7 separate regions of the Homo sapiens genome follow, and all the other regions are linked to region 7. The links are contacts of gene promoters, found by promoter capture Hi-C in blood cells and fetal thymus (Javierre and others, 2016). All regions are on one chromosome and are shown on one strand. The core of a region is centred on a gene start or on the middle of the fragment in contact, and the rest is flanking DNA. Distances in the headings are between cores, read along the strand shown. Region 1 overlaps ARHGAP11A-SCG5 (ARHGAP11A-SCG5 readthrough). Region 2 overlaps AVEN (apoptosis and caspase activation inhibitor). Region 3 overlaps RYR3 (ryanodine receptor 3). Region 4 overlaps ARHGAP11A-SCG5 (ARHGAP11A-SCG5 readthrough). Region 5 overlaps RYR3 (ryanodine receptor 3). Region 6 overlaps RYR3 (ryanodine receptor 3). Region 7 holds the start of FMN1 (formin 1).

Region 1 (3,696 bases), core at 1-2,500, 550 kb before region 7:
TACTATAGCTAGGATGAAAACTAACAAAGAAAATAGTCCAAAGATACTTGGGGCAAAAACAACAAAATAAAAAGCCTGGGTTTTTCCCAGTCTGGGACCTTGGCATTGAATTTGTTGGGTGGTCTGATCATTTATTCATGTGAGTTAGTTATTGTTTCACCTCATCCATTTATTTGCATTATCTTTGCTCACACTCCCTGATGCTAATTCCCTCTGACAGACACATGGAGTATCTTCCATACCCTTCCAACATTGATTTTAGGATTTTATTGTGAAGAACCAAGTTGGGAAAGTTTATTTTTAATTGTTACAGAAAGAATATACATAATATATTATCATATTTTATAGTAATACTGTATTCTGGTGTGAATTTCAAATACACTTAACATGGTGCTTATGAGCACAAACCATTGTCAGAGACACCCGAATTTGAATGCCAGCTTCATCATTTATTACTAATATGACCTTGGGCAAGTTACTTAACTCCTATAACCTTCTGTTTAGCTTAGGGGTAGGATTTAAATTCACTTACTTGTAAGCAGGTAATGTTCCAGTCCACAGAAGCAAAAATAAAGTTTTAGCATGGATAACTGTGCTACGATGAAATAATTTCTAAACAAATCATCATCATCATCACTTTAGATAATTACTGGATGTTAAGTTCCTTGCAGGCAGAGTTGTTCACTGCCCAACACATGGTACATAGAAGACAAATATCTATCTTGTCTACTTAAATAAATTAATTGTATGATCAATGGATCTTAACAAATGTGTATATTTGCTCTCAAATATAGAATTATAAATTGGCCTTTTAGTATAGGAATATAGTATCAGTATAAATTAATGTTAGGTCAGTGAGGTATCATATATCCCATTAAAAAAAACATATCTTCTTTGATTCCATATCCCTTCTAGTTACTGTTCCAATTTTCTGCTGCCTTTCACAGCAACCTTTCACAGCTGCCTTTCACAGCCTTTCCTCACATGCCAATTGTACTTCTTCACCTCTCATTCTCTCCTGGTCCATTGTAGCCCACTGTTCTCACCGCTCATTCATTAAACCTACTAGTATTTATTGAGTGCCAGGCACTGTTTTAGGTACTGAGGAAATAAACGTGAACAGCAAAGTAGCAGGGCGAGGAAATGTAGTCCTTAAATAAACAAATAAGTATTGGGCTTTCCTTTTTTCCTTTTTTTCTTTACCCATTTGTTAGTTTCGTTTACAGGTTTCTCTGGCGGCCTTTAAAAGTTAAGTTCTCCAGGGCTCAGTGCTGGGTCCACTTCTCTTATTTCCCTCAATTCTCTATCTACTTGATCTCATTCATTCTCTTGACTCTCAATCCATTTCTTGGCTGGTGACTCCGGTGTTTGTATTTCAGCCCACATTTCTTTCTTGCATATCCATAGGCTTACACTAATTGCTAAATTGCCAGGTTTCGATCCTGATTTCTCAAACCACCACCTTCCCCAGCCTGTTTATATCAGTCTTTTCTGTCTAAATGAGTAGTGCCCCTGCTTAGCCATATATGCAAACTAAATACCTACAGTAACCCTTGATTTTCTCCATCACACTTCATGCCTCAATTTTAAGTAATTTATTTCATTTTTATCTCTAAAATCCATGTGCAATTTCCTGTCTGCTTCTCTCTAGCTCTACTCCAAACACCCTGGTCCAAGATACCATCATGTCTGGCATGGAGTTTTGAAATCGCCTCCTAACTCATCTTCCTGCTTCTATTCTTGATCCCTTTTCGATTGTTCTTCACAGGAAGAACAGGAGTTAAACTTTTTTCAGGAGTTAAACTTGAAAAGTTTAAACCATATTAGTGTCATCTCCGTAGTTACAATTCCATTGGTGGCTTCCCATCGTACCCTGAATAAAAATAACCCTTCTTGCCATGACCTACGAGGATCCACAGCTCCAGTCAATCGTACTCCCTACTTTGTTCCACGCATTCTGGCCCTGAGTCACACCGGCCTCTTCCCACCTCAAGGCTATCAACACATTGGATGGGATCAACAATGGGAGGCTATCAACCTCCCATTCCTTGTGTAGCGAGTTTCAAAGTCACCCACTCAGAGAGGGCTGCCTGACTGCCCTGTCTGAGTAGCACCCCCCTACATTCTCTGTTGCAGTCTCCTTTTTTTTTTTTAAAAAAAAAACAGAGTCTCACTCTGTCCCCCAGGCTGGAGTGCAATGGTGCGATCTCGGCTCACTGCAAGCTCCGCCTCCCGGGTTCTCGCCATTCTCCTGCCTCAGCCTCCCCAGTAGCTGGGACTACAGGCGCCCGCCACCACGCCCGGCTAATTTTTTGTGTTTTTAGTAGAGACGGGGTTTCACCGTGTTAGCCTCCTGACCTCGTGATCCTCCCGCCTTGGCCTCCCAAAGTGCTGGGATTACAGGCGTGAGCCGCCATGTCCAGCCTTTTTTTTTAAAGCTCCATAGCATTTTTTGTCATTTATAATCATTGTTTGTTTTCTTGCTTATTGTTTATCTCTCCACTGGAATGTAAGCTCCATGAGGCTATATCTGCTTATTAACTGCATTATATTCCAGGCACATAGTAAGCATTCAGTAAATATTTGAGGAATTAATGTATAATATCAGGGGGAAATAAATATACCTAATGGCAATAAGTATGTAAATACTGTTTTACATCTGGATCTGTCAAGACTTTCTGCCTTTTAGTTCAAGGAAAATATTCCATTTCTATTCTGTTTTTAAAAATCTCTGCCTAGAGGTTCTTGCCATGAGCTTAGTGATAATGTGGTGAGCAAAAATGTCTGTTATCTAGAATTGACTATGACTGTGATCACCATGGTGCAAGGTTTGTGCCCTTTGTACAGCGCCTACCAAGGAGCTAGAAGGACTTTTTGCAGTCCTGGGACTAAACCAGCAGAGGGCCAACTAGACTAGAAGTTTATTTTGGAAGATTCCTGAACCCTGGTAGCCAGCCTCCTGGTCGTTAATAGCTTTAAGTGGTCGCTGGGGTAGAAGCATTTGCCAAAACATCCAGAGAGGATTGGGGGTTATGTTTAACTTCTCCGTGGGCGCCTTAAAAACAGCTTGGTAAGGAGCATCTTTCAAATGTGTAAATTCTTAGTCCAAAGCAAATAAAAACACAAAGACAAACAGGGACCTACTTGGCATTACATGAAAAAAAAGAGTGTGTATGTTTATGGCAGAGAACTCGGGTTAACCCGTAGCCGTACTATTTTCTAGCTATGTGTAATCCTGGCAACTTTCTAAGCCTAGTTCTCTCAAATAAAATCGGCCCAAATAAAATGGGCTTGTCTGGTTCGAGTTGGTGTTTGAAAAATAAAAATAAAATAAAATGGGGTTTCCAGCCCACTCTTACATGCAATCAGTGGGTGCCATTAGTAACTGAATTGCAGGCCTTCCTCCTCTCACTTTGTGGATTATCAACAACATGTTTTCAGTCTTTAATGGCTTACCCCAATCTTATTTATTTATTTATTTTTTGAGACGGAGTCTTGCTCTTTCGCCCAGGCTGGAGTGCAGTGGCGGGATCTCAGCTCACTGCAAGCTCTGCCCTCCCAGGTTCATGCCATTCTCCTGCCTCAGCCTCGCGAGTAGCTGGGACTACAGGTGCCCGCCACCACACCTGGCTAATTTTTTTTTCGTATTTTTAGTAGAGACGGGGTTTCACCATGTTAGCCAGGATGGTCTCGATC
Region 2 (3,758 bases), core at 1,209-3,708, 840 kb after region 7:
GAGGATCCCTTGAGTACAGCAGTTGAAGGCAGCAGTGAGCTTTGCTCACACTACTGCACTCCAGCGTGAGCAACAAAGTGAGACCCAGTTTCTTTTTTAAAAAAAAAAAAAAAGGAAAAGAAAAAATCAATTTATAAAAATTGTGTTTTTATTTAAAAAGTCAATATATACAATATGTTGGAAATTTTATATTTTGAAATTCTCTGATCCATTGATAAAAATGTTAGATATAAACTTTAAAGTACATTGTACATGGTTTCCCAAAATTTTTTTAGGCAGAATACAAGCAAAAAAGTTCAGTTGTCTGTGTTGATATTGAAAATATGTAAGTGAAATAGTGGTCAGTGAGAAAAGCAACTTAAAAACAGAATATGTTAACAAGGATAAGGATGCCAAAATAATTACAGTGTGTGTGCAATGGTTTGCAGCAGGAGGAGAGGTCAATTTCATGGATTACCAAGAACTAATCTTAAAGCAATCTTCTGTTGGGACACTTAAGCACATTCAGTTTCTAACCAAATTTGCTTCAGGCTTTCTGGAAAAAAAGGAAAATAAAGTCTAGAGGCTGTCATTTCAGTTTGAGCTTTTAACAGGCTCTCAGTCTCTAGCTGGCTGACAAGCGGCTGGTGGCTACTCTGAGCAACAATGAAGGAGCAAGTCCTTAGACACCTGCCTGTAACTGATCTGACACCATTTCTTCCCTCCAGGTTCACACTAAACTTGAATAGAAAATTAGAGATTTCCTTTTTACCCAGTGAAATGAAAATGTCAACGCCATCGGGTATTAATTACTACTCAGGCTTTGTTTACAAAGCAAAAGTTTGATCAGAATTAAATGCCTCCAGATTCTACTTTTTAGTACAACTATAAACAGCTGTCTCATCTTTTATTGAATATAAATCATTTTAAAAGGAATATGAAAAGCTGCAATATAAACATGGAGCAAGAAAGCAAAGGTCTGGTAACACCCACAATAACTGAAGATGGTACCAATGTTACCTTAAAACCTTATAACCATACTAACATATCAGTTAAAAAAATAATCAGGCATGTGAAAGAATCACTCAACAGTCCTCCACACACCCCTTTTTCAAATCTCAAAGTCATTCCAGGAGCAGTTTAGAGCAGCAGTCGAAAGAACAGGCTCTGGAGTGAAAATGCTGGGGTGGAATCCAGGCTCAGCAATTTTCTGGTTGAGTGATATTAAAAAGTTATTTCACCTCTCCTAACTGTGAGTTATTTAACGGTGCCTCAGCTGTCTCATCTTATATTAAGTACTCGACAAATGTGAATTACTGTTATTACTAGAGGAAGGAAAAAAGAAAAAAAATTCCAAAGACTACCAGCTGGCCTTGTCTTCCTCTCTGCTAACAGCCCATCACAAAGATAAATACTAAACAATCCTAGTATTGGGGGCAGTGATAGGGGGATTATTTATTCATTTAGTTAGTAAGTTAGTTATTTGAGACAGAGTCTCACTCTATTGCCCAGGCTGGAGTGCAGTGGCAGGATCACAGCTCACTGCAGCCTCCACCTCCGGGGCTCAAAACAATCCGGCTGCTTCAGCCTCCCTTGTAGCAGGGACTACAGATGCACCCCGCCATGCTCGGCAGTTTTGTATTTTTTTTATAGAGAGGGGGTCTCGTTATGTTGCCCAGTCTGGTCTCGAACTCCCAGACTCAAGTGACCCACCCACCTCAGCCTCCCAAAGTGCTGGGATTACAAGCGCGAGCCACCACACCCAGCCAGTTTTGTGTTTTTTTTTTAAAGTTAATGATTGTATCTAGTACAATAATGCTTCTAGTGAGTATTCCGTGAAGATAATTATGCTCACCCATAATCAGTAAGCTTAGAGCTCAGACCATTTACAGAAGGAATGATTTAAGAGCAAGAGACTAAGAGATGTACTCAACTTAGTACTCAACTAAGTTACCCTGGAGTATTACATAGCTATGTAGAAGTTGGTTAGATTGATTTTGTTTTCCATTTGTATGCAGTGGTCCAAAATAGAAAGCAAAGGTGTACACAAAATTGGTTTCTGAAGGTGGACAACTGGTCTTTACATGGCTAGGAGTCTATTATGATTTTTTTTTCCTTTGATCATTTCGGTTACTCTCTCCTTGGGGCACAAATGCACCATGGGATATGAGAACAAGAAGGCTTCAGGAAAGTCAATCAATCTTGTCTCATGTAATGGTTAAGCACCAAAAATGGTGTCCTAGCAAGACTAAATACAAACAGTACTTCAGAATCTGAGAAATGGAAGGAACTTAGAGATGACCAATCCAAACCAAAATTAAGGAACAATCTGCCCAACATCCCTCCCTCCAGCTTTGGCTGAAAACATGATGATGAAGGGATAAGACCAACTCGACAAAAGAAAAAGCCTAAAATTTTAACAGAATGTGTTACAATACTATCTTAAATTTTTTAAAGTCTTGTATTATTCTTTCTTTTAATGATATACCATCATGACCAGGCGCAGTGGGTCACACCTGTAATCCATATCCCAGCACCTTGGGAGGCCGAGGCGGGTGGATCACCTGAGGTCAGGAGTTCGAGACCAGCCTGACCAACATGGTGAAACCCCATCTCTATTAAAAATACAAAATTAGCCGGGCAAGGTGGCTCATGCCTGTAATCCCAGCTACTTGGGAGGCTGAGGCAGGAGAATCACTTGAACCCGGGAGGCGGAGGTTGCAGCAAGCCAAGATCATGCCATTGCACTCCAGCCTGGGCAACAAGAGTAAAACTCCGTCTCAAAAAAAAAAAAAAAATATATACCATCATTTCACCCAATTTAATTCAACAGAGATTAACAAAACAGAAGCACCTTCACTCACTCAATTCAACTTAAAGACACTTATTAGTAAAGTCCTGTGCGCCAGACACCATAGTTAACACCAAATGTACCATTACTACAATTACTCTTAAAGCACGATCCCTGCAGCTAAGGAATATCTACTTTGTTCTCAATAAAGTGGTAACTGGTTCACGAAAAAGTAAGAGATAAAATACTGTTGACTCAAGGGCAGCTTGATATAAATCCCAGCTCTGCCACTAGCTGTGAAAGCTTAGGCAAGTCAGTTAACCTGTAAAAATAAAGATTACTCTCTATATATGGATATATAAATAATATATAACATTGTAGTTAATATATAATTACATACTATTATATTACATAATTCTACATTACATATATATTATATATATATAATAGAGTTATAAGAACAAAATGTGATATATAGTGGGCACTAGGTTGGTCTTAGTTTCTGTCATTTACCTTAGTTTCTGTCAGTTTACACGAGGTAAACTGACCCTAAAAATGTTTTTATATCTCATTCAAGTTTTGCCTATTACCTATCTTAATCCTAACAAGATTTAAGTTTGTTACATTTAAATTTAAGTTTTATACTTTTTTTTCCAGCTCTGTATTGCTGTATACAACTACTCTCTTTAGGGATATCTTATCTGCTATGCCCTCAAGATATTGTAAATACTTCAGTAAGAGCAAATTTTGCCTCATGCAAAAAAGAATTTTTTAAATCAGTGTGCATAAGAATGCAGAATATAAAGATGGTCTTGTCCTACAGATGTTAAGGTAACAGAACAACTCATAAAAAGACAGTCCTCTAACTCCTTTAGCTGAGATATGGTTAGCTTTGCCCCCATATATATCATCCCCTGCTCCAATCTCCAAAAACTTCCTTCTATGAATGTGTCAATAAGACTGATGATATTGCTATTAAAACTCAGAA
Region 3 (3,461 bases), core at 1-2,500, 560 kb after region 7:
AGTCCTGCTCCCCTCGACCTCTCAAACGTTGTGCTCTCCAGAGAGCTCCAGGTCAGTGCCCCAGGTCCAGCATGACTTGCTTTCAAGTGCAGGACGCATTACCTTCCAAAGAGTTAAAGGGGGAAAAAAGGGAAAGAATGCCTAGAACATATCACCACTAAAATTCAAAACTGAAGACGGTCACCTTGTGCAGAGGCCACAGGGAAAGTCTCTGCAGAGTGAACCAATCCTCCAAGGGGAGGCTTTGCGCTTCTTCTAAGGACTTCATGATGGATGCTGACTCAGTAGGAAGCACCACCAGCGCACTAGAGTCATTCCTCAGCATCCATGAAAGCTTTACCCTAGGACTTCCCACAGATACCAAAACCCACGAACGCTCAAGTCCCTGATATAAAATGGCATAGTTTTACCTATAACCTACACACATCCCCCCATATACTTTAAATTATCTCTAGATTATTTATAATTCCTAACACAATGTGAATTCTATATAAATAGTTGTTATGCTGTATTGCTTAGAGAATAATGACAAGAAAAAAATCTGTACATGTTCAGTACAGACACATTTTTTTCCAAATATTTTCAAGCTACAATTGGTTGAATCCACAGATGCAGAACGCATGGTTAAGGAAGGCTGACTATACTGTATCAAAAACCAAAATAAATAAGACAGCTAGGACAAAATCTGTGAAATTTAGCACCTCAATGGAGGTGCTTGCTGGTCATTGTAAGGCCCCCAAAACATAAGGACAGCCCACACGTCCCACAGTGGGTTTGCTGGAGCTCCCTGTGATGGTGCAGGCAGGCAATCATTGCAGGATATAGGAATGTAAGACCAAGGGGTTGAAACTGAAAGCCCTAAGCTGCTTCCTCCCGTTGCTCCCCTCCTGTACACACTGGTGGCTGTGGCCTGCCCTAGCCTGGAGCACTCACCCTCTGGAAGTCCATCAGACCAGCCCCTTGGACCTTCGAGAAAGTTTCTTTCCAAAGTACATCCTTCATTCTAAGTCACTGTTTTACAAGCCTTACAAAGATGGATTCTACTAGAGAAATCTTATTTACAGCACTTTCCTTTAAGACGTGATTATTTTTAGTTTGTTAAGCTATAGGCTTTCGGGGGTTCTAGACTTTTCTTGGCCCGCACTCCCAACTCCCCGTCTGAGGTCAGGAGTACAATACCAAGCTGCTGTGAAAAATGATGTGCTGCCAGCATGCGGGTTCAAGTGGAAATGGATGTTTCTCATAAATGCATCAAACTGCCAGAATAATAAGTTACAAGGGAAGGACAGAGTTAGAAATTGTTTTCTATGTGTATGGGAGGATAGGAAACTAATGAGGTACATAAGCACACACTAATTAATGATGGGAAGCCCTTGGCCGTCTGCTGTTAGTGTTCAGTGGTGTGCTTTTCCCGAGGCTGCCTGAAATGACCTAGCAGCTATGAAGCCAGCTTGCCTGCTTTCTTTCTTTTTGACTTGGCTCTTCTTGGTGGGACACAGGGAATGGTGGAGGTCGTGGCTGAGAACTATCACAATATCTGGGCCAAGAAGAAGAAGCTGGAGCTGGAGAGCAAAGGTGAGTGAGGTTCACAGCATCCCCTAAAGAAGCTGAACCGGGGCAGCTATGGTCTCCCAGAAGTGCAAAGGAAGAGCCAAATGTCATCTCTCACCTTACTGACCCCAGGTGGTGGCAGCCACCCTCTTCTGGTACCATATGACACCTTGACTGCCAAGGAAAAGTTCAAGGACCGGGAGAAGGCACAGGACCTGTTTAAGTTCCTCCAAGTGAATGGCATCATAGTTTCCAGGTAAGTCACCTTCCATGTGATGCTAGTGGGACAGGGCTGTGCCTCCCTAGATATTTAATTACGTGCCTACAAAACCCATCCAAGTAAGGAGAACAATTGAGTCTTTTAAAATGAGAACATTTTTATTTTAGAACATGAAGCCCTCTTTTTTTGATATAAGCAGAAATGTTAGGTATTAATTTTTAAAGATCAGTGACAACAAAGAATTATTACAAATTATACCTACATACCTTAAACATTTCATTGTAACTTAAAATATATAAACATGCATTCATTCACAAACCTTGTGCTATGGGCTAAGGCCCTTTCTTTGTATATTCTCTTTATTGGAGTTATAAATGACATCCATAATACAACCTCAAAGCTTTGGAATTTGGGCTTCTTTAAAGAGTGGTGATAATTTGCAGCACATGATAACAGGGTAAATGCAGTACCCTAGATATTTTTTTATTATTATTTAAGTTCTGGAGTACATGTGCAGAACGTGCAGGTTTGTTACATAGGTATACACGTGCCATGGTGGTTTGCTGCACCCATTAACCTGTCATCTACATTTGGTATTTCTCCTAATGCTATCCCTCCCCTACCCCCACAACCCCCACAGGCCCTGGGGTGTGATGTTCCCCGCCCTGTGTCCATGTGTTCTCATTGTTCAACTCCCACTTACGAGTGAGAACATGTTTGCTTTTGGTTTTCTGTTTGGTTTTCAGTTCTTGTGTTAATTTGCTGAGAATGATGGTTTCCAGCATTATCTATGTCCCTGCAAAGGACATGAACTCATCCTTTTTTATGGCTGCATAGTATTCCATGGTGTATATGTGCCACATTTTCTTAATCCAGTCTATCATTAATGGGCATTTGGGTTGGTTCCAAGTCTTTGCTATTGTGAACAGTGCTGCAATAAACATACGTGTGCATGTGTCTTTATAGTAGAATAATTTATAATCCTTTGGGTATATACCCAGTAATGGGATTGCTGGGTTAAATGGTATTTCTAGTTCTAGATCCTTGAGAAATTGCCACACTGTCTTCCACAATGGTTGAACTAATTTACGCTCCCACCAACAGTGTAAAAGTATTCCTATATCTCCACATCCTCTCCAGCATCTGTTGTTTCCTGACTTTTTAATGATCGCCATTCTAACTGGCATGAGATGGTATCTCATTGTGGTTTCGATTTGCATTTCTCTAATGACCAGTGATGATGAGCTTTTTTTCGTATGCCAGTTGGCTGCATAAATGTCTTCTTTTGAAAAGTGTCTGTTCAAAGCCTTCACCCAGTTTTTGATGAGGTTTTTTTTTTTTTCTTGTAAATTTAAGTTCCTTGTAGATTCTGGATATTAGCCCTTTGTCAGACAGATAGATTGCAGAAATTTTCTCCAATTCTGTAGGTTGCCTGTTCACTCTGATGGTAGTTTCTTTTGCTATGCAGAAGCTCTTTAGTTTAATTAGACCCCATTTGTCAATTTTGGCTTTTGTTGCCATTGATTTTGGTGTTTTAGTCATGAAGTCTTTGCCCATTCCTATGTCCTGAATGATATTGCCTAGGTTTTCTTCTAGGGCTTTTATGGTTTTGGTCTTATGTTTAAGTCTTTAATCCATCTTGAGTTAGTTTTTGTATAAGGTGTAGAGAAGGGATCCAGTTTCAGCTTTC
Region 4 (3,721 bases), core at 98-2,597, 530 kb before region 7:
GCATAGTTAACCTCGTGACTATCCAGTTTTCCAATTATCCAGGCCCATTTACCTCTGCTCCCACTCAGCGAGCCCTTTGGCTATTTCTCTGTTCATTGGCACCTAAAGTCAAGGAGAAAGAAACGAACATTTATTAAGTGCTATGTTTGTACCAGTTAATCTTCTCAATGAAGTATTATTATCACCCCTGTTTTACAGAGAAGGAAACTAATATTCAAAGAGGTAAGATAACTTGTTCAGGACCACATATGTTTTTAAGTATAGAGCTCATGCATTATAAAGTGACCACCCTAGCTAACATTTATTAAGCACAATATTTGCCAGAATTCTTGCAAAAAGCCTTACAAGGACTATTTTATTTTATCCTCATACCAACGGCTTAAGGATGGTATTACTTAAGTATTCTTGTTTTACAGATGAGGTCATACAGCTAAGGTGATGAGGCCAATATTCAAACTCAAGCATCTGGATTGCAGGCTGCACTTTTGATCGCCATGTCTAGCCTCCTCTATACACCTGCTCTGACCGATTTGGTATTCACCACGCCCAAGAGGCTACTGAACACCTGAAATATGGCTGGCTGGAGTTGTGATGTACTCTAAGTATAAACTACACACCCTATTTGGAAGACAGTATGCAAAAAAGAATATAAAAAGTCTCTTTGGCAATTCTTTATATCAATTACATGTTGAAATGATAATTTGGATATATTGGGATTAAAAATTATTTAATTTCACTATTTCTTTTTACTTTTTGAAGTGAGAAGACTAGACAATTTAAAATTACAAATGTAGTTCATATTCTATTTCTATAGAACAGCACTGCTATATACTATTTTAAAATAATATATAAAGGGGACTAGAACTGACTCAGGCCAACATTATTTTTCATCAATAGTTCTAGTTAAAAATTTGGTTGGAAGTGGGTGGATGGGAAGGTTGAAGCCCATTTTTAAAGATAAGTTTGGTGTTTTTATGAATTTGAGTTATGTGTGCTTTCTTCACCCGTTTTACCATGTGTGGGTAAGAGACTTGCCATTTTTAAGAATCAGAAGAATTCTGTGAGGTGTATTTCCAGTGTCTGTGTGTAGTGCTGCAGCTGTCTGAGCGTATTGCCGGAGGCACCTCCTTTGGACTTTAAGGCACGAATTGCTCATCACTGTCCACACAGCTTTGTGGCCGCCTTTGAGTCTATCTCTTTTAACATAACATTGAGTTCTGGCTCCAGGTCTGGCACAAAGTTGATAATAACTAGTGAATACTGTTTTGTTTGGTTTGTTGTAGTTTTATTCTTTTTTTTTTTTTGAGACAGAGTCTCACTGTGTCGCCCAGGCTGGAGTGCAGTGGCACAGTCTCGGCTCACTGCAGCCTCCGCCTCCTGGGTGCAAGTGATTCTCCTGCCTCAGCCTTTCGAGTAACTGGGACTACAGGCACACACCAGCATGCCTGGATAACTTTTTTGTATTTTTATTACAGATGGGGTTTCACCATGTTGGCCAGGCTGGTCTCAAACTCCTGACCTCAAGTGATCCACCCGCTTCGGCCTCCCAAACTTCTGGGATTATAGGCATGAGCCACCGGACCCACTTTATTCTTAATACCTATTGCCAGGCAGAGGTTACATGGATATAAAAGAGAGAAATTGGGAATATTTGTATGAGATGGGAAACCACAGGCCAGGAAAGCATTACCAAAGGGTTGTAGAGGATTTAGTCTGGGCCCCTCCCCAACGTACACACCACGTGCCTTCTCCTCTCGAGGCTAGAATTAACCCTCACCCCACCACCAGCTGCCAAAAAATAGTAGTAGCTGCTGGGAACTCAGAAACAGAAAAGAATTTTCTATGAGATTACTGTCTAAAACAAATGTTTATTCTAGCCATTTATAAAGAACACTTATGGATTTACAGCAGCTTAGGATAGTGAAAAAGAAGTAGAGGAATGGTAATTAATTCAGGTACGAATTTGTAAGGCCAAGTGAGAATCACGTTCCTTGTCGTGGCCCAAAAGGCCTTGTCAGACTCAGATGGAGTCTCCTCGTTTTAGTCTACAGACATATGGGTGGAAGTGACATGATGGAATAATTACATTCCCAAGCCGTGTACCCAAAATCTGTGCTAGGACCACTCCCCTGGCCAGTGCGGAACCAGGTCAGCTGGTGGAAGGGGCTCTGAATGGGCACAGCGCTGCCAGGCCCTGCCACTCCCACCTCATCCCATCCAGAATGGGTCCAACACAGTTCCTGCTAACCCTTATCCACACCTCCTCAACCATAGTCCCCAGTGACCTGCTTCCTCTGTGAAGCCCAGGCTGACTGGAAGGTGACCCTCAACAGAAACCATCAGAGAGCTTTGGGTCTGGGGCGGAGGGTCACCTCCACTCTCACGGTGGTGTCTTGGTGTTAATGTCATCTGTTGGCTCAGCCATTCATTGCTTCTCTCTTCCCTAAGCTCCTGCAGATCTCCTTTACTCGTTTCTTAAGTGTAGGAAGCTATCTCCTTGGATGCTGGGTCACTAATTATAAACTTCCTATGCATTTACCTGGCTCTGGTTTGGCCCCTAATGTCTTTATTTCTGCCTGCAGGATTGTCATTGCCATTGCCCCTTTTCCTTACCTGGGAACCCGACATACTCTGCTTATCCCTTGAGCTGGCACACCAGGGGGCCTGGAATTCCTGTTGGTGAAGTCACTACTTTAAGAGAATTATCCCAGAAATCCTCTAAGTTGCAAATCCTACAGGAGCAGAGTACTACATGTTAATTAGCACTCATTATCATGTTAGTAGAGAAGCTTACCCAAAGGAATGATACATAGGACCTGCTATGTCATTGAGAACAGAGAGGTGGGGCTCAGGTTCTGGACAAATGATGTCATAAGTAAGTGTAGTTTCAGAAAGGAAGATGAAGTGGGAGCTTTAGATAATTGGAGGCGGTAGGCCTGTATATGGAACCAGATGCTAGAGAGCCCAAGTCCATATTTTTACTTTTTCACAGTTTTGTGTCCATATCCTCACCGAATCCCAACCACCACCACCACAGTTCTATATCCCGTTATTTTTTCAATAATAACTGATACCTCAACTTAAGCTCCACTCTGACCCTCAGCTAAGCCATATAATTTCAGCAAGAATTATAAAATAAAGTTTTTAAAGGACAAACATGAGCCTTAACCTTAGTATAAAGACATGCTTAGCCTTCATACAAATTGCCAAGTTGAGACTTCATTTCAGACGGCAAATAAAAGTTACATGAAGGAGCTAAAAGTGCTATTGCAAATTACCTATTTGAAACGGCTTTTTCAAAACCTGCTAAATTCACACCTCTCCTAAAAATGCTTCACTTCCAGATTATTTTATTTTGGGGTTTTGTGTGTATGTGTTAGAGGGGGTGGGGTTTGTGGTGACTACAGAAAAATTAGTTAAATTCATAGGATAAAATTTGAACTTTTGCAAATGAGTAAACAGCCAAAACAAACACCGCTTCAGAAAAAAAAAAAAATACACGTTTTCTCCTTTTGGAAAGCAAGCAATGCTTAAGCAAAATACCTTAAAAGTTAACTAAAAAGCTTTTCTAAAATAAACAACTCTGCTTGTGATCCTAAATTGGGACCACATGTAGATGTGAAAGCTACAAATGCAGTGCACTCAGAATTTGCGTCTCTGCCTTCACTGTTTGCGTGCCTCTGAGTAGATGATGATAATGTTGGCTTTGGTCCCCAAGGAG
Region 5 (3,568 bases), core at 513-3,012, 540 kb after region 7:
CAGAGTTTTTTTAACCTTGACAGTAAATGTTAAGGGGCTATCCTGTGCATTGTAGAACGTGTAGCAACATCCCTGGCCTCTACCCACTAGATATCAGTAGCACCCCAGTTCACCGCGAATCCCTGCCAAAATCAATTTCAGATATCACCAGATGTCCCCTCGGGGACAAAATCACCCTCTGGTGAGACCGTGTCTCTATTGCCTTTGAAAAAGGCTGGCTGGCAACATTATAGGCTGACATTACTCTTCACACTCTCGCTTCTTAGTTTCATGTACTGACCACCAGGATGGATAGGTCTGAAGCCAGGGGCCTGACGAAGGTCAATACAAGAGGACAAAGGCAAATATAAGTTTGGAAATCAAGGGTGAGATAGATAAGGTAGTTCACCATCAACAAACATCAAGAGAGGAGGCCCCTAGAGTTACAAAGCTCAGATACGAGATGCCACAAGTCAGAACTAAGCAGAAAAAGGTACACCAGGAGTCATAGGTCCAAGGAGAAAAGACAAACTAGATCTGCGTAAGTCTAAAAAACATCTTTCCAGTTTAGTGTTGTTTTTAGTTATAACATTTCTCAAAGGCTCCACCTGGTGTCCAACAGAGACAGAAATCTGAGCTCTGTGATGGGTTGTCAGCGGCAAATACCTTAACTTGGATGGATTCCACCTGCATGGGTTATCCAGAAATGGAAAGAAATATGAGCCCCAACCTGAGTGGGAGCTGCATTCCCATGTGTGGTATGGTGATGATAAATGGTATATATGACAGTATTAGGGTATACGATCCCTAATACTGAATAACCCAGTCTAACCCAATGTTTTGATATAATAAAACAATGAATAATTTTTTATTCATAATGAATAATTATGAATAATTATTTGTGAATAATTAAAACAATGCTTCTGCCACTGCTGTTGTTTTGAACTTTTCTATAAATTATTTGATTTTAAAAATAATTTTCTTAACTCATGGGATCTCCCCAAGCTTCCTGATCAAATAATTTAATGTTTTTATAAATCAAATAAACAGCAAATGCTATTCTAGTATCTGGTGTTCAATCACATGTTTGTCCAAACACCATCTACAACAAAAAGGTGTTATATTCAGTTCATTAACACATAGACATTCATGCATTCTCTTTTGAAAACTTATAATCTACTGAAATCAAAGCTCTGTCCTTTCTCGTTTTAAGTCTGTATATTAAAGTGATAAATGTGAAAGATTAGCTGTTTCTCCCAGCATGATTACTGAAGTTTCTAGGAGACAAACTTGATAATTTAGATAATTTATAGGAACAATGAGACATGTATATAGTTCAAAGAAAATGGTTTTTCAAATCATAAGTTATATAAAGTGTGTTACAGATAGAATGACTGCAGGAATCACAGGAAATGGCAATATTTCATCTCTGTGGATCTCAAGGTTTCTTTCGAAAGTTCTATAGTTTTCAAAGATGGTGGTAAAGCATGCTTTGGCTATACTTAGTGTCACTAAATGGGTTTTCCTTGTATTCCATTCATCCGTCTAAATGTACATCAAAGAGCATTGTAAGCAAGAACTATGTTAGAGTTGTACAGAAGGTCCCAAGTTTCTGTTCCTTTTCCACGTTGCCCATGCAGAGTCAGGTTCCCTTTAGTGGGGTCTACTCTAATGTCAGTATTGATTGTGAATTGCTCGAAGTGCTCACCAATTAACTGAAAGGAGTCAGAGTTCCACTTTCGCTTTCACAAAACTGGTGAATTTGAGAAACTGCTTGGCCTATAACCATTCACTAATCTTACAGTTGTAAAATTACAGTGTGTGAGTCCCTGGTAGGTGAGAAAAGAGAGCGAAAACCAGAATAGTAATGTAGTATCCTGGCAACTAGACTTTGCAAGCATCAAAATGTTGGGTTAGACTGGCCATCAGCTGATTTTAATGAGTTCAAAATTCTTTTGAAGGGAACAGATATTTATAGGATCATTTGGGAAGACTTAGAGCCAGCTAGCCTTTGTTATGATTTTTTTGTGTGTTTTTTTTTTGTTCTTTCTTTTAACTTGATTTTTTTTCATTGAAAATGCAAAAAGAAAAATAGAACTGCCGATAAGGTAGAAAGTTGTTCACTGCCTTGCTATGCAACGTGGACATATATAAGCTCCCACAGCTTGCTACATGGGAACTCTGTGCAGAGCCAGCTTTGCTCTGTTCCTCAGGGCAATTAACCTGTGTCCCAATCTTCTTTCTCTAGGTTTCCCTAAGCACCACAGAGGCTGCGCTTGCACTAAATAGGTATATATGTTCTGCTGTGCTCCCGCTCCTCACAAGATGTGCCCCTCTCTTTGCCGGAACAGAACACTGCACCTCTCTGATTGATTCCACACTGCAGACAATATACAGGCTATCCAAGGGACGTTCCCTCACCAAAGCACAAAGGGACACTATAGAAGAATGTTTGCTTGCCATTTGCAAGTAAGTACATATCCTATGTTGTTACTTCTGTGTATGCATCCAGGTCAACTGCATTTTCCTATGTAATCTAAAAACTGGTGGTCTAGTCTAAGGAAGCTTCCAGGCCATTGTCATACACCAGCCCTCCCCCAGACATCTCATAGGATGTGCTCGGCTCCCCTATTTGCCACAGGCTCTTCCTTGAGGCTCATCTTTCCCTTTGGGGGAAGGGAGAGGGCACAGCTCAGGCTTTACCCATTACGGTTGATGGACCAGAAGACTATTTCAGGCCTAAACTGTTCAGATTAAGGGCTGTCTTCATTCTCTTCATTCTCAAGATAGAGCCAGAAGCAGATGTGTCTGTCCTCTACATGAGCATATCTTACATAGAAGCCAGACTCTGAGTGTGAATAAAAGCAACCTACCGGCTGGGCACGGTGGCTCACGCCTGTCATCCCAGCACTTTGGGAGGCCGAGGTGGGCAGATCACGAGGTCAGGAGATCGAGACCATCCTGGCTAACACGGTGAAACCCCATCTCTACTAAAAATACAAAAAAAAAAAAAATAGCCGGGTATGGTGGCAGACGCCTGTAGTCCCAGCTACTCGGGAGGCTGAGGCAGGAGAATGGCGTGAACCTGGGACGTGGAGCTTGCAGTGAGCCGAGATCATGCCACTGCACTCCAGCCTGGGCGACAGAGCAAGACTCCATCTCAAAAAAAAAAAAAAAGCGACCTACCTCTAGGCCTCCCAAGACCAGCAACAAATGAAAGAAAAAACCTCCAGTCACAGTGGGGAATTAAAGGCAATAATTTTTATGACTGCAGATGGGCATCAGAGCCAGCTGAGGACAAAAGGTAAAGTCACCCCAAGAGCCTTGGGTCTTCAGGAATCTAAGTCAAGTCTGGTAGAATCCAAGGAAGACGACCCTTTCAACAGGTCTTAGCAGCACAGGCCAAGACTATGATCTGCTATTTTTCAGCCAGTGTTTTTCCTTCTCACCTGCATATCAGAAATGCCTGATGAGTTACGAAATAAATATCCCAGTGCCCAGGCCACATCCGAGCCCAAAAAGTCAAAACTGTTAGGGATGGGACCCAAGATTCTGGCTTTTGAAGCTTCCCAAGTGATTCCAATATGTA
Region 6 (3,820 bases), core at 571-3,070, 520 kb after region 7:
CACCGTGTTAGCCAGGATGGTCTCAATCTCCTGACTTCGTGATCCACCCGCCTCGGCCTCCCAAAGTGCTGGGATTATAGGCATGAGCCACCGCACCCGGCTACCAGGCCACTTCTTGAACACTTTGCTGCTTAGAAGTTTCTTCCACCAGGATACCCTAGGTCATCACTCTCAAGTTCAAACTTCCATCGATCCCTAAGGCACGAACAGAATGCAGCCAAGTTCTTTACTAATGTGTAATATGCATGACCTTTGCTCCAATTCCAAATAAGTTCCTCATTTCCACCTGAGACCTCAGCAGCTTGGACTTCACTGTCAGCATTTTGGTCACAACCATTTAACTGGTCTCCAAGAAGTTCCAAACTTTCTATCATCTTCTTCTGAGCCCTACAAACACTTTCAATCTCTGCCACCTACCCAGTTCCAAAGCTGCTTCCACATTTTCAGGTATCTTTATAGCAATACCCCAATCTTTGGTACAAATGTTCAGTATTAGTCCATTCTTGCATTACTCTAAATAAATACCTGAAACTGGGTGATTTGTTAATAAAAGAAGTTTAATTGGCTCGTGGTTCTGCAGGCTTTACAGGAAGCATGGTGCTAGCATCTGCTTGGCTTCTGGTGAAGCCTCTGGGAGCTTTCAATTGTGGCAGAAGGTGAAGGGGGAATAGGCACATCATAGGGTGAAAGCAGGCATAAGGCAAGGGGGAGGTGCCACACACTTTTAAATGGCCAGATCTCTTAAGAACTCACTGTTGTGAAGACAGCCTCAAGCCATGAGGGATCTGTCCCCATGATTCAAACACCTCCCACCAGGCCCCACCTCCAGCATTGGGGATTACAATTCAACATGAGATTTGGGCAGGGACAAATATACAAACTGTATCAAGGACTGAATGGTGATGATGATGGCTGAGCCTAGGTATGTTGAGAGAAAAGGAACAGAGGTCACATTGAAGCTTAAAGATTTTTGAGGGTAGAGAGAAAGAAATAAGGATGTCAGAAGAAGCAAAATGGTTTGAGATGGAAGGTAATAAGCTTGGCTTGGGTCACATTATATTGATTTTTCTGTGTACAGTACCCATATAGAGATACCCCTAATTGAATTTGTAGGATAGAAATCAATCAACAGATTAGAACTAAGTAGATTTGCAGTCCATTGGTAGCTCAAATGCTTCACAGTAGGTTGCCACAGGTGAAGGCATGAAAAAGAAAAATGTGGAGAGTATGAAAAAGAAAAATGAGAATATTTCTGAATACTTAGGAGGAGGAATAGTGGCTCAATCACAACAGAATGTTACAGAAGAGTTTGGAGTAGAGAATGGAGTAACTTGGGTTCAAATTTGGCTCTATCATTTACTAGTTGTGTGAATTGAAGCAAGTTAGTCAAAATACCTAACCTCAGTGCTTTTTTATGTGTAAAACAGAGATGATAATAATGTATGCCTCACAGAGTTGTGAGGCTTAAATGAAATAATCCATGGAAAACTTAGATCAGCCCAGTGCCACAAACCTTATAAACTTGTAGTTATGATAGTTGTTGTTCATGATCTTTACGAGAGTGGTAGGGCATTTGAAATGGGAAAACTGTAATAAACAGATTTCTTTGGAATCTCAAAGCCCTTTATAAGTCCTTATGTCTAAAAGGTGATTCAAAAGGACTTTCTGAATACCTTTGTGAACTCTGCTCAGCAATGTAAGATAAAAGTGATATAAGGAATCGTGGCAGATGATGGAAGTATTCATGGTGGGTGATGGTAGATGATGGTGGGTGGTGGTATATGATTATGGTGGGTGATGGGGTGTTCATGGTGGGTAATGGTGAGTGGTAGTGGGAATTGTGATAGTGGGTGATGAATGGTGATGATGCTAGTGATAGTGGAATATGATAGTTGGTCAGTGGTTATAGTGAGTTGTAGGGTGACTGAGGTGGGTGGTGGTTAGTGAAGGTAGACATGGTGATGGTGGTGGCTGATGATGATGGTGATGATGGGATATGATGGTTGGGTGGTGCATGGTCATATAGGGGGGTTATAAGGGTGAGTGTGGTGAATGATGGTGAGTGATGATGGGGGTGGTGAGGGTTGTGGTGAGGATAACAGCTAACACTTATTGAGCATTTACCATGTGCCAGGCACTGTTCAAAACACTTTTACATATATTAACTTTAATTATACGACAATCCAATGAGGGAAGCATCTTAGTCTGTTCAGGCTGCCATAACAAAATACCATAGACAAGGTAGCTTATAAACAACGTAAATTTATCTCTTACACTTCTGAAAGCTGGGAAGTCCAGGATCAAGGTGCTGGCAGATTCAGTGTCTGGTGAGGTTTCCTGGTTCATAGATGGTGCCTTCTCACTTTGTTCTCACATGGTGGAAGAGGCAAGGCAGCTCTCTGGGGCCTCTTTTGTAGTGGCACAAATCCCATTCATGAGGGCTCTGCCCTTATGACTTAATTACCTACCAAAGGCCCTACTGCCTAATATCGTCACCTGGACAGTTAGGATTTCAACATGAATTTTGGAGGGTGGGGGGGACACGAATATTCAGACCATAGCAAGTGGATACAATTATCTTCATATTGTAGATGAAGACCCTGAAGCTTAGATTAAATACCTTGCCCAGAGTCTCATAGGTAGTAGAAAGTAAAGCCAGAAATTGAATCAAGCAGTTTGACTCCAGAGGCCACAGTTTATGAACCATTGTGCACTGTTGTCTTCCTGTCTCCCTAATCAACAAGGAGAAACAACATTTTCTCCTTTGAGCTTGTCAAAAATGGTGGTATTATTTAATCACTGTTTGGTGCTAATTTTAAAAATTTTAAGCCATATCAAAAGCTTTTAATATATCAAAATAATGGAATTAGAAAACTCTTTCTAACATTAATTTACTATTATTTCTTAATGTTTGTAGTAAATCTTCTTAAATATTTGTCTTTAAGAAAATGTTTTAAGGCATATAATTTGCTTCACTTTATTTTTATTAGCTGTTGAGAAGCCTTGGGTTGTGTTTAACTCTGGAAGTAATGAAGTCGTTAAGCTTCTATTTTCCCCGCAGTTGCAGGCACTGTAGCCAGGCTAAGCACAGATGTGTTTGGGTGTCTGTGATTAATCCCTTCCTATTGTAGACTCTGAGAAGGAAAAGGTTTCCTATCAATCCACAAGAAAAAGGGAAAAGTTATTCTGTGTTTTCTTAGAGTCCTTGGAGAGTTATAGCGATATCTTCCCCAGACTACAAACTTAGTTTAAGGAACATAATATCTCCTAGCTTTGCTGAATCTGCTTTCCTAGGTAGATTTATTATCAGTGGCCATAACTTGGACATCCATCATGTGACATGTGAAGAGTCTATGAGGGGCTGTGAAACGTGATGCTCTAGAAGTCCTGCCCAGAAGTCACTTCCTACAACTCAAAGCAGGAAACAGAGAAAACCCAAGTAGAGTGATCAGAAACATGTATGGAATAATTACTAAAAACTTTGTAATCAACCACACCTACCTACATAGTGACACATGAGACATTGGCATGCCAAAATGATGGTGTTTATTGGAATCTGGTAGAATTAGTCAAGGGATGCATGAGGAAGAAGGCAAGTGTTGAATAACATCTTGAAATAAATGGATATAGTTTAACAAAGTCCTAAAGGGAGAGCATATGGATAGACTGTTGTGCTGGGAGACATACATCTTTTAGGGTTGAGAGTACAAAGTGTCATCTTAGCTTTGAAGGGCATACAAGGTGTAGACACTTAAGAATCATCTGGTTTATTTCTGCCCTTGTATTCATGTTTTTAGAGTCAGAAAGGGCATGTTAACCA
Region 7 (3,555 bases), core at 451-2,950:
TAGCCATTACAATATACTGTCTCACTACTCTTCTCCATTGTTTCCCTCCATTGAGGCCATTGCTTCTTTGTTCCTGCAATATGTCTAACTATTCATTGGTCCTGCTCCTGGACTGTAACACAGTTGAGAGAAAGGAGACTAGTGTTTAGATATCTGATCAAGAAGACCCGAGACCTCATTGATTCATTGTGGAAGCAACATCTTCCACAACGACAGTTAATCTGGTATGCAATTCTCAGCTATACTGTTTTCCCTCCCAAAAAAGGGTTAATAAGTCTGTGATCCAAGAGATTTGCAGTAAGCCCTAGAAACAGCTAAGCAACGGCTGTTGAATCCCATTGGTGTGCCTATAAGATGCTACCTGGTGTAGAGAACAGAATATAATTCTCTCTCCTAGGAATTTAGATGCGCCCCTCCGCCCCCCTGCCAATACACACGCAAGGGGGCATAGCAGATGATGGCACATGTCCCATATGCAAACATGAATAGTAAACATGCTTTAGTACAGCTGGAGCTACTGTAGCAGAAAGTCAGGTTGTCTGCTACTCCACCTGGTCTTCTTAAAGGATTGGGTCTGGACATTCACCTCTCAGTGACTGCCACTCCCCATATATATCACAGGTTCAGGCTCTGCATTCAGCCCATTCGGAGTGTGTGAGTGCTAACATGGAACTCTCCAGGAGACAGCAAGCAGAAATGTGGATGATTAAAATAAAGGGTTTTCTTTGGCAATCTCAATTGCAAATGAGGATAAGGAAAATCCTCCCAGCTCACACTCTGCTCCCAGCTACTTGTTCTTGAGTTAAATGAGGGCTTGGCTCTGGCCTCAGGGGGCAAGAGCACTGTTCGTTATTTGGTGGTGGGGGAGGGGGTTGGGGGATCCGTCAGCACTTACATGCCTTTAGAGAATCTGCCTTTACAGAACTTGAAGAGCTCTGATGGAGGAACAGAGATGCTGTGGTGGTAGTGGCCTTGGAGGTGGTGGTAGTGGCAATGGTGATGATGATGATGATGAAAGAAGAAGAAAACGGTGATGGTAAATGTCATCTATAAACACAAGCAAAAAGCAGCAACAGATACCTTTCTAGTCATTGCCAACCATAGTCATGAAGCTGCTTCTGTTCCCAATGCAATCCCATTGTGGTGCTCCCCCTCTGCGCTAAACACATCCAGCTTCAAAAAAAAAAAAAAAAAAAAAAAAAAGCTCTGCATCTCTCCGTCCCCCGCCCTCCCGCCCTCCCGCCCTCCACCTTTCCTGTGCCAAGCTGGGAATGAGACTGCACTGGCGGGTCAAGGGGGCTGGGACCTGAGAGTCAACGACAGGAGTTCTGTAGTGAGGAGCGTTGGGATGACCCGGAGGGCCCACCAACGTACTTGGGAGCAGCTTGGTGGGGGAGCTGGAGGAACCGACACAGAAGGGGAGGAAGATAAGCTGGCGGGGTAAATAGACTTGATGCCTCATTCCAAGAACCCTGAAAGCCACGGGGGAAGGCGGAGCAGGCAGCCTTTGGTCGGGAAGAAGAGACGGGCAGATGGCCAGCAGAACAGACAAGACTCTCTTTACCTGACCAATACTCGGGAGGCTGGTCCCGAGTCCCAGCTACTCGGGAGGCTGAGGCAGGAGGATTGCTTACGGCAACAGCCGTGGCGGCTGCAGCCTCGAAGGATGCTGCGCTCCAGTCCAGAGCCAAAGCCCAAAGGGGCAGCTGCGCCGACCTCCACCGAGGCTCCGCCCCACAGGCCACAGGCCCCGCCTTCCTAGCACGCGCCGGCCTGACGAGCTGTTTGGGGGAGGTGAGCAGTAAACTGATCGGCAGGGCTGAAGACCAGTGGAAACGTGCAGCGGCGCCCGAGGTGGCAGGGGAGGCGGGGCGGGAGGCGGCGGTGCCCAATCAGCAGCCGAGCCGTTGGGCCAGGCTGGGAAGCAGTGCTGTCTTTTGGCACCGTCTGATCCGGGCTGAGGGATTGAAGGCGGTGGTCGCTAAGCTAGGTCTAAGACGGACAGCCAGGGCGACAACCAGTCTCTCGCTACGTGTCCCCAGCTTCCCTGTTTCCGAGCGCCTCTCAAGGCGCACGCTCTGGACTTGTTCAGATGGGGGAAGGGAACTGGTCTGGAACTCCCCACTATTCCCGAGGTTCCCACGCCTCCAGATCCGGAGAGGCCGTTTCGCTCCAGTGGCCTGGCCCCCCTGCCCCCTCAGCCTAGCCGTTCTTGATCGTAAGTGCTAAAAGGAACAAAGAAGGAGAATTCAAGAATCCACACATAAGCCCAAACCCTGACAGGAGCCTTTTCCTCTCCCATCTCCTGCCTACGCTTCCTCCTAGTAGCTTTTTAACTGCTGGCGGTTAAGTTACTTTGACTGGTTTGAATTAAACGCAAAATAGGTTTAGGCTGAGAAATGGGCCAGACCCTTGGCGATCTGAGAAAGAAAGACTGAGTCCGGATGTCAAGAGGCCTGGGCCTCACGAGGGAGTTTGTCTGCTTATTTGAACACCTCAGAGTTGAAGATCTTGTTACTGCTATTTCTGTGCTGGTGAATCAGTACAGACCTTGATGCCAAGGTACTGTTTTGTCCCCAAGTGTCTAATCATTACTGAAATGAACTACCTTCAAACCTTTCCTAAGAGGATTTGAGGCCTTAATGTCGTTGAGATTTGGAATGTGATTTGAGTGACACTGAGATCTTTTCCAAGTAGGTAGGCAAGAAAAGGCATTGTCTTTAATCTGCTTTTGGATAAATGCGAACTGTATCACCCATTTGGTACTTGAAGATAGAATTTTGTCCTGAATAGATTCTGTTTTCAAATAAGTAAATGGGAAAAAAATTTGGAAGGTATTTTTAAGGTGATTTTTTTCACTATTTTTTTTCTAGAAATAATAGTTTATTGGAACTCTGATTTATTCTTAATCACAATATTAGCCAAACACTGATAGGCCCTTTATTTATTTGTTTTTTTAACACACGGTCTCACTCTGTCACCCAGGCTGGGGTGCAGTGGTGCGATCTTGGCTCACTGCAGCCTCAACCCCGTGGGCTAAAGCCATCCTCCCAACTCAGCCTCCAAAGTACCTGGGACTACAGGCGGGCACCACCATGTCCAGCTAATTTTTTAATTTTTTATTTGTAGGGACAGGGTTTCACCATATTGCCCAAGCTGGTCTCAAACTCCTAAGCTCAAGCGATCTTCCCTTCTCAGCCTCCCAAAATGCCGAGATTACAGTTGTGAAGTGCTGTGCCCGGCTCCATAGGCACTTCATATACATTATCTCCTTCAATCCTCATATCTTCCCCTTGTAAATTCCACTTATAGATAAGAAAACTGAGGTTCCCAAAGTTCAAGTAATTGTCCTTGGGTCATGTTCGTAGTTAGGAGTAGAGTCAATACGAGGTCCGTATATCTCCTGTCTAAAAATCATCATCATCAGTTAGAAGAATAAGAAGCCCTCAGTACGACTCTTAATTCCTTGATGCTTTTTTCTTTTTACCTGAAAATTGTCATATAGGGATCCAGTTTTCACACTACTGACTTCTTGAAACCGCAGCCTCAGAAGCA

Evidence for each region. Contacts are between HindIII fragments. The CHiCAGO score rates a contact against its expected background, and 5 or more counts as called.
Region 1: a contact is called between a fragment that was not itself captured here and the fragment with the promoter of FMN1 in region 7, in 1 of 17 cell types (monocytes). The highest score is 5.2, in monocytes.
Region 2: a fragment that was not itself captured here is called in contact with the fragment with the promoter of FMN1 in region 7 in 1 of 17 cell types (naive CD4 T cells); the score reaches 5.2 in naive CD4 T cells.
Region 3: a fragment that was not itself captured here is called in contact with the fragment with the promoter of FMN1 in region 7 in 1 of 17 cell types (endothelial precursors); the score reaches 5.1 in endothelial precursors.
Region 4: a contact is called between a fragment that was not itself captured here and the fragment with the promoter of FMN1 in region 7, in 3 of 17 cell types (monocytes, fetal thymus and M0 macrophages). The highest score is 9.7, in monocytes.
Region 5: a fragment that was not itself captured here is called in contact with the fragment with the promoter of FMN1 in region 7 in 4 of 17 cell types (endothelial precursors, erythroblasts, M2 macrophages and 1 more); the score reaches 8.3 in endothelial precursors.
Region 6: a contact is called between a fragment that was not itself captured here and the fragment with the promoter of FMN1 in region 7, in 3 of 17 cell types (endothelial precursors, erythroblasts and M2 macrophages). The highest score is 7.6, in endothelial precursors.

The regions. Positions count from the first base shown.
Region 1 is chr15:32,646,631-32,650,326 of GRCh38, forward strand. All of the region lies in intron 10 of ARHGAP11A-SCG5 (ARHGAP11A-SCG5 readthrough), which reads left to right. All of the region lies in intron 2 of SCG5 (secretogranin V), which reads left to right. Among named protein-coding and RNA genes, the nearest start is that of SCG5, 6.8 kb to the left of the region's middle. The HindIII fragment of the contact is 6,991 bases long and covers 1-3,696 here.
Region 2 is chr15:34,034,349-34,038,106 of GRCh38, forward strand. The region is part of intron 1 of AVEN (apoptosis and caspase activation inhibitor); the gene reads right to left. The region is part of intron 1 of CHRM5 (cholinergic receptor muscarinic 5); the gene reads left to right. Among named protein-coding and RNA genes, the nearest start is that of AVEN, 3.0 kb to the right of the region's middle. The HindIII fragment of the contact is 1,225 bases long and covers 1,847-3,071 here.
Region 3 is chr15:33,748,480-33,751,940 of GRCh38, forward strand. It overlaps RYR3 (ryanodine receptor 3), which reads left to right. Exons shown (of 104, transcript NM_001036.6): 55 at 1-51; 56 at 1,500-1,575; 57 at 1,684-1,807. Among named protein-coding and RNA genes, the nearest start is that of CHRM5, 220 kb to the right of the region's middle. The HindIII fragment of the contact is 1,837 bases long and covers 333-2,169 here.
Region 4 is chr15:32,666,387-32,670,107 of GRCh38, forward strand. All of the region lies in intron 10 of ARHGAP11A-SCG5 (ARHGAP11A-SCG5 readthrough), which reads left to right. The region is part of intron 2 of SCG5 (secretogranin V); the gene reads left to right. SCG5-AS1 (SCG5 antisense RNA 1) reads right to left here. Exons shown (of 4, transcript NR_135505.1): 2 at 2,614-2,732; 3 at 53-102. It overlaps LOC124903458 (a long non-coding RNA gene), which reads left to right. Exons shown (of 2, transcript XR_007064573.1): 2 at 417-734. Among named protein-coding and RNA genes, the nearest start is that of SCG5-AS1, 4.8 kb to the right of the region's middle. The HindIII fragment of the contact is 2,880 bases long and covers 1-2,787 here.
Region 5 is chr15:33,729,247-33,732,814 of GRCh38, forward strand. RYR3 (ryanodine receptor 3) reads left to right here. Exons shown (of 104, transcript NM_001036.6): 48 at 2,228-2,448. Among named protein-coding and RNA genes, the nearest start is that of CHRM5, 240 kb to the right of the region's middle. The HindIII fragment of the contact is 1,560 bases long and covers 983-2,542 here.
Region 6 is chr15:33,711,441-33,715,260 of GRCh38, forward strand. The region is part of intron 43 of RYR3 (ryanodine receptor 3); the gene reads left to right. Among named protein-coding and RNA genes, the nearest start is that of CHRM5, 260 kb to the right of the region's middle. The HindIII fragment of the contact is 1,568 bases long and covers 1,037-2,604 here.
Region 7 is chr15:33,193,014-33,196,568 of GRCh38, forward strand. FMN1 (formin 1) reads right to left here and starts at 1,701. Exons shown (of 21, transcript NM_001277313.2): 1 at 1,565-1,701; 2 at 896-1,047. It overlaps LOC105370759 (a long non-coding RNA gene), which reads left to right and starts at 1,898. Exons shown (of 3, transcript XR_932090.3): 1 at 1,898-2,562. RefSeq lists silencers at 1,680-2,019, 1,794-2,003. The HindIII fragment of the contact is 5,074 bases long and covers 1-3,555 here.